Linked DNA regions of Homo sapiens: region 1 is linked to region 2. The links are contacts of gene promoters, found by promoter capture Hi-C in human tissues and cell types (Jung and others, 2019). All regions are on one chromosome and are shown on one strand. The core of a region is centred on a gene start or on the middle of the fragment in contact, and the rest is flanking DNA. Distances in the headings are between cores, read along the strand shown.

Region 1 (2,700 bases), core at 201-2,700, 650 kb before region 2:
ACTCCACCCCCGTAATACAACCACAAATGGTATTTTTGCCTACTTCTAGTTTTTTTCTATGACTCCTAAAAACAAACCAAAACCCATAGTTTTAACATAAAATTATTATCCGATGGGTAAGAAATACTTAATACCAAAGGCAGTCTCACACATTGCTTCAAAATCATGTTTAATGGACATATAACATTTCTACAACTATCTCAACTTGCTGAACCATTTTCCTAATACTGGATTTTTACTTAGTTTTAATTTTTTCTCTGTAATAAGACTGCAGTAAACATTTTCTTATATAACTTTTTGTGTGATTGAGTGTTGTAAGCTTTCAATAATGAGAGGTTGGAGCCTTCTGTCCAAAGAGAAAATTAAAAGTGTGGCACCTGACCCCCACCTCCAGAATTTAATCAAGATGGGGTTATTAGTAGTGAAAGATGTTATTAGGTTGTTGAAGACAAAGATGTTTTCAGGAACACCATATTCAAGACTGGCGCTTCTCTAGTAATCTTAACTTGGGGCTTTTTAATCTCTTGCACCTCCCTTCCACTAAAGGGAAAAAAAACGGAGAGCAAATCCCACATTAGTCTTTTTTGCGGGGAAGGGGCCATTCCAGGGAAGGGTCTGATTGATGAGTCTATCGGCAACTGTGATCCTGTGTCACCCTTGCCTGGGGCCTGTGAAGAATATTGAGATTACGAGAGGTACACCTGTACATTGCATTCAGAATACAGCCATCTGATACAGAAAACACAATGTAGATTGTAAAAAGGAGTTTACAAGAAAACCTGACAAGCTTCCTAGATATCACTGGGTATTAAATTGGGAATGTTGATGTCATTTGAAATGGATTTCTTTAAGAGTTCTTCTCATTACCAGAAGTTTTTTGTGTTTTTTTTTTTCAAGACCTTAAAACCGGAACTTTCCCGAAGAAAAATGCAAATAAGAATCTCCTTCTGGGAATCCGACTTAGTGAGCCATCAGAAATCTGAACTAGGAAGTCTCCGCCCCAGCTTTGTCCTTTGATTATACACACATGGGCACATGCACAGACACAAACAAATACAGACATGGGTACAAACACGTGAGCACACACACAGACACACAGAGACTCACACACAGAGAAGCAGAGACACACACACACACAGGCAGACACTCCACAAAGGGCACAGAGGTTTAAACAATGACTCACCTGTTCCCCAGGCCCGGTCACTTGCAGGGAGCTGAAGAGCCTGTCATCACCAGTCCACAGCGTTGCTACCTGTCTCCGCTTTCTCCTCTCTCTGGTCCAGGGGAAGGTTTGCTTCCCTCCACAGGCAGGACAGGACAGGAGGAGCCTCTACTCCAATGGAAAACAGCCGCAGAGCAGAGGTCAAGAGCAGCAGCCTCGGACCAGAGCAATGCCCACTGGACCCCAGCGCCAAGGTCAGGCCTCTTCTCCTCCCAGAAGGTTTCAGGGCAAAGTCCACAGTGGTCATGTGGTCACCTGAGGCAGGGCAGGAGGCTGGACCTCAAAGCAGGTGACCCGGGAGCACCTGCGCGCTGCCGGAAGTCAAGTCACATTCCAGTCCTGCATTTCCTGGCACCCAACTGGAGCCCGTTTTTCAGCTTTATTCCGGGGTTTCACTTCCAGGATCTCACTTTGGCACAGAATGTTTTTCTTGGCTCCTTCCTTGGAGCTGTATGGAATCTTTGTTGCACTTGAAAAACCAACAGCCCAGAAGAGAAAAGAATATTCCGGTCAGATGAATTAATTCCTCCCACTGTCAGCTAGAAGCCATCCCTGGCTGAGCCCTGCACTGGCCAGAGGCAACTGAGTGTGAGCCAGTCCAGGGTCAGATCCTGGGCTGATGCCACCTGAGGGCGGGGTGGGGGCGTGGCCTCCGTGCACATGGGAGACTCCAGGTGCAGGAGAGGGGGAGGTGGACTTCCTCTTGGTCTTCCCAAGCCATGAAACTTCCTGGCTTGGTGGTAACAGAAGAGTCTCCTCCAGGTAAGATTTCCAGAGCCTCTGAGTATGGCTGGGGTAGCAGGGTTGGGCCTGAGGCTGAGGAGATGGAAATCTGTTGCCGTGAACATTACTCCACACAGCCAGTATACGGGAAGCCAGCTCACTTTATGTCCTCCAAACTCACCCTAACTTCTCGTTTGGGTCTCATCCCGCGGGGCTGCTGGGAAATAAGCTCCGCCACCACAGTGGTTCCTCCGCCCTGTGGGAGTGGGGGGCTCTTATGCTGGAGGGGGGACACTGGCCTGGACTTCTGCTGAGGCTCTGCCCCTCATCCCTGCAGGACGGACTAGCCAGTCCTAACACAGGACTAGCGTTGCTCTACCACGTCCAAGCCTCCTCTGAGATTCTTCCTCCATGCAACCACTTCCCCTGGGGCGTGGCCACCTCCCTGGAAGCCGCCAGCATGCTCGGCTGGGCCCCCGCACTCTGGAGGCTTGAGAATCTCTCTATTTTTGAATGACGTCCTTATCCTCTGCCCCCAGGCTGGTAACCAAAGGTCTGGGGGTGGTGACGTGCTGGGAATGGTGTAACTCGTGAGATGGAGGCTGAATGTGGAAATACATGAATGTGCTTCTCTTCTCTCCAGTTCCCTTGAAGAATCCACCTTCCTGCAGGGTTGGGGGAGCGCAGAATGGGAGGAAGATACAAATACCAATTTTATAGCAAGAATGCAAAAAGAGGCCAGCGCGGTGGCTCGA
Region 2 (2,700 bases), core at 136-2,635:
TGGGGCCTGACTGGGCTGGTTACCAGGGGCTGCCCTGCAAGCCATCCATCAGAGGAGGGAGGGAAGACCTGGGAGACTTCCAGGGCCCTACCCCACCACATCTGAACCCCTGGGAGGAGGGAGGAGATCCAGGGAGGGCCGGGCCCACCCCCGCAGGACTCTGGCTGGCATTGGTCACCAAGGCCTCCAGACACTCCGGGCAATTTGGGCTGTGGTCAGGCTGCCCAGGGCTGCGGGCACCAAGTCGGGCCCCTCAGCAGGAGCCTGACTCAGTTCAGCCTCAGGGGCCTCCTCCAGGTCGGAGCACAGGTCGTCCCCAGGACCCGGGGGGCTGGGTATTGGGGATCCCGGAGCGCCCCCCGCAGGCCAGCCACTCCGTCCAGGGGCTCTAGGTGGCCCCGCCAGGGCGTCCCCCAGCAGATCCTGGAAGCTGCTGCCCTCACGCAGCGGCATGGACTCGAGCAGATGGTTCAGGAGCTCGGCAGCGACGGTAGCGTCGATGGCCTGGCACGTGGACACGAACGTGTGCACCTCGTGCATGCACTGGATGTAGCCGGCAGCGAAGCGCTCGCTCGCTTCCGCCTGCAGCTGCTCGCGCTCTGGGCCCGAGGGTGGGAGGGAGAGAGCCGCGTCCCGCGCGGTGAGCGGCGACTGCGTGGCCCAGCCCACCCGGCCCGCGGGGACGCGGCTCACCCAGGAGACGCGGGGGCGCACCCTGCTCCGGTGGGAGCCCTCGCCGCCGACAGGACAGGGGCGCCGGGAGGGAAGTCCTCCGTCTGGCAGGGGTTACAGGCGCCCGCGGCCGGCGCCCCCGCCCGCCCCGCCGCCACTCACCGCGCGCCCGGCCCCGCAGCACACCCTGGACCCGCCGCACCGTCAGCTCCAGCACTTCGGCGTTCTCCAGCTTGGCCTGCACCTGCGCGGGCGGGAAGGGCGGTGAGCCGGCAGCGCGCTCCCGGACCCGCCCGCCCGCCCCGCAGCCCCACGGCGCCTGCCCGGCCGCCGCACCTCGGCGCCCGCCAGCAGCAGCCGCAGCTCCTGCAGGCTCTCGTTGATCCGCGCGCGCCGCTTCTTCTCCACCAGGGGCTTCCGGGCCTGCGGGGAGCGGGGCACTGAATCCCAGCCCCGCACGGCCTCCCGCCCGCTTGCTCGCCCATGGCCCCGGCCCGCACCTTGCGGTCCCCTCGCGTCTCCCAGCCGTCCTCATCCTCACGGCCCACACGGTCCCGGCCAGGCGCCGCGGGTGGCGCCATGCCCGCTCCGCCGGGGACGCGGCAGGGGCTAGGAGCAGCGGGGACGGGGAGCGGCGGGGACCGGAGTGCCGGCGCCCTCCGCTGCCCCGCGGCCGCCCAGCAGCAGCCCAGCCGTCCGCGCTCCTCGCGGCTTCCGGCCCGCCGCGGTCCCGCCCCTTTTATAGCCGCTTATTTGCATCTCAATGCGCCGATTGGCCGCGCGGGCCCGGGGCGGCCGACCGCGAGGCGCGCTGCAGCCAATCGGGGCAGCGCGCTTTGTCCGGCCCAGCGGCTCTGGCGGTCGGGCAGCTGGCTGAGCTAGGCGGGGCCCCCAGCCCGGCCTTCCCTAGACCCCCGCGGGGGCGGCACCGGGGCGGCGACCCCGGGTAGCTGCGGCCCTGCCCGCGCTTGTTTCTCTCCGTCTGCTGCTCTAGGACCACTGATCTGCCGCGCGTGCGAGCAGGCGTCCACCCGTCCGTCCGTCCGTCCGTCCACTCATTCATTCACCCATTAATTCATTCATTTCCCTCCTTCGCCGATGGCGCCTCCAGAGTTGAGCGCTGGGGCCACTGGCCCCAGGAGATGCGTCCCTGGTGTGCAGAGCCACAGTCAAGTCCGCGGTCTCTGGACCTAGAGGGGTTTCAGGTCCCGGCTGGGGTGGCTGCCAAGCCCCGGGGAGGCAGGGTCCATTGGGCAGCGGTGGCGGGGCGGCCCCTGAGTTTCTTCCGGACTCGTCCAGACGCCGGGCCGGACCCCCGACGCCGCCCTCCGCCAGCACTGGAGTCCTAGTGGGGCGGGGTCCCGGGTGCTCCCGCCCGCGCCGCTCTCCCCCTGGGCTCTGCGGGTCACCAGCCCCGCCCCCCTCTGAGCTCCCCCATCTCCCTCTAGTCCCCTTTGGCCCCCGGGGCCCCCTCCCTCCCTTCCACTGCCCCCCGCCCGCCTCCCTCCTCCCCTCCTCGTCCTCCGCGCCCCGCCTCCCAGGCCCGCCGAAGCTGCCGTCTGGTCCTGTAACTTGATGCCCGTGACAGTTGGCAGCTGCGGCCGCTTCGGCGGAGAAAAGCGAGAAAAGCGGCGGCCGCGCCAAGAGCGACAGGTGTTGGCCGCGCCTTTGTCTCGCACCCTTTGTCCGGCGGGCAGGCGGCGGGCGCTTGTCCCGGCCAGACGCCCGCGACTCCCCCATCGCGGCGGGCCGCCCATCTGCTGGGTTCCTCTTGGCCGCGGGCGGGGTGCGTGGGCGGTGGGGCCGCGCCCTCGGGCAGCGTCCTGGGGACCCCTGCCCGGCTCCTGCCCCGGCGTCAGTCCAGACGCTGTGTGGAGGAGCCGGAACGGGAGACGCCTTCTCGGACCCCAGCCGGCCGACTACCAGCCTGCCCCGCACAGCACCTGCCTTCCTCAGTCCCCACTACTCACCCGGGCTGGGATCGTCAGGGTCTGTTCTGAGCCCCTCCAGGCTATAAGCGTCCCTGGA

Evidence for each region. Contacts are between HindIII fragments. The study calls those that stand out against the background at their distance.
Region 1: a contact is called between the fragment with the promoter of RAB17 here and the fragment with the promoter of HES6 in region 2, in 1 of the 25 tissues and cell types used here (aorta).

The regions. Positions count from the first base shown.
Region 1 is chr2:237,589,284-237,591,983 of GRCh38, forward strand. It overlaps RAB17 (RAB17, member RAS oncogene family), which reads right to left and starts at 1,451. Exons shown (of 6, transcript NM_022449.4): 1 at 1,184-1,451. It overlaps RAB17-DT (RAB17 divergent transcript), which reads left to right and starts at 1,877. Exons shown (of 3, transcript NR_187201.1): 1 at 1,877-1,984; 2 at 2,589-2,700. The HindIII fragment of the contact is 5,809 bases long and covers 554-2,700 here.
Region 2 is chr2:238,238,653-238,241,352 of GRCh38, forward strand. It overlaps HES6 (hes family bHLH transcription factor 6), which reads right to left and starts at 1,386. Exons shown (of 4, transcript NM_018645.6): 1 at 1,173-1,386; 2 at 1,009-1,095; 3 at 835-916; 4 at 1-599. The coding sequence starts at 1,253. The coding sequence ends at 175. RefSeq lists enhancers at 1-385, 2,286-2,700 and a silencer at 1,109-1,628. The HindIII fragment of the contact is 10,490 bases long and covers 1-2,700 here.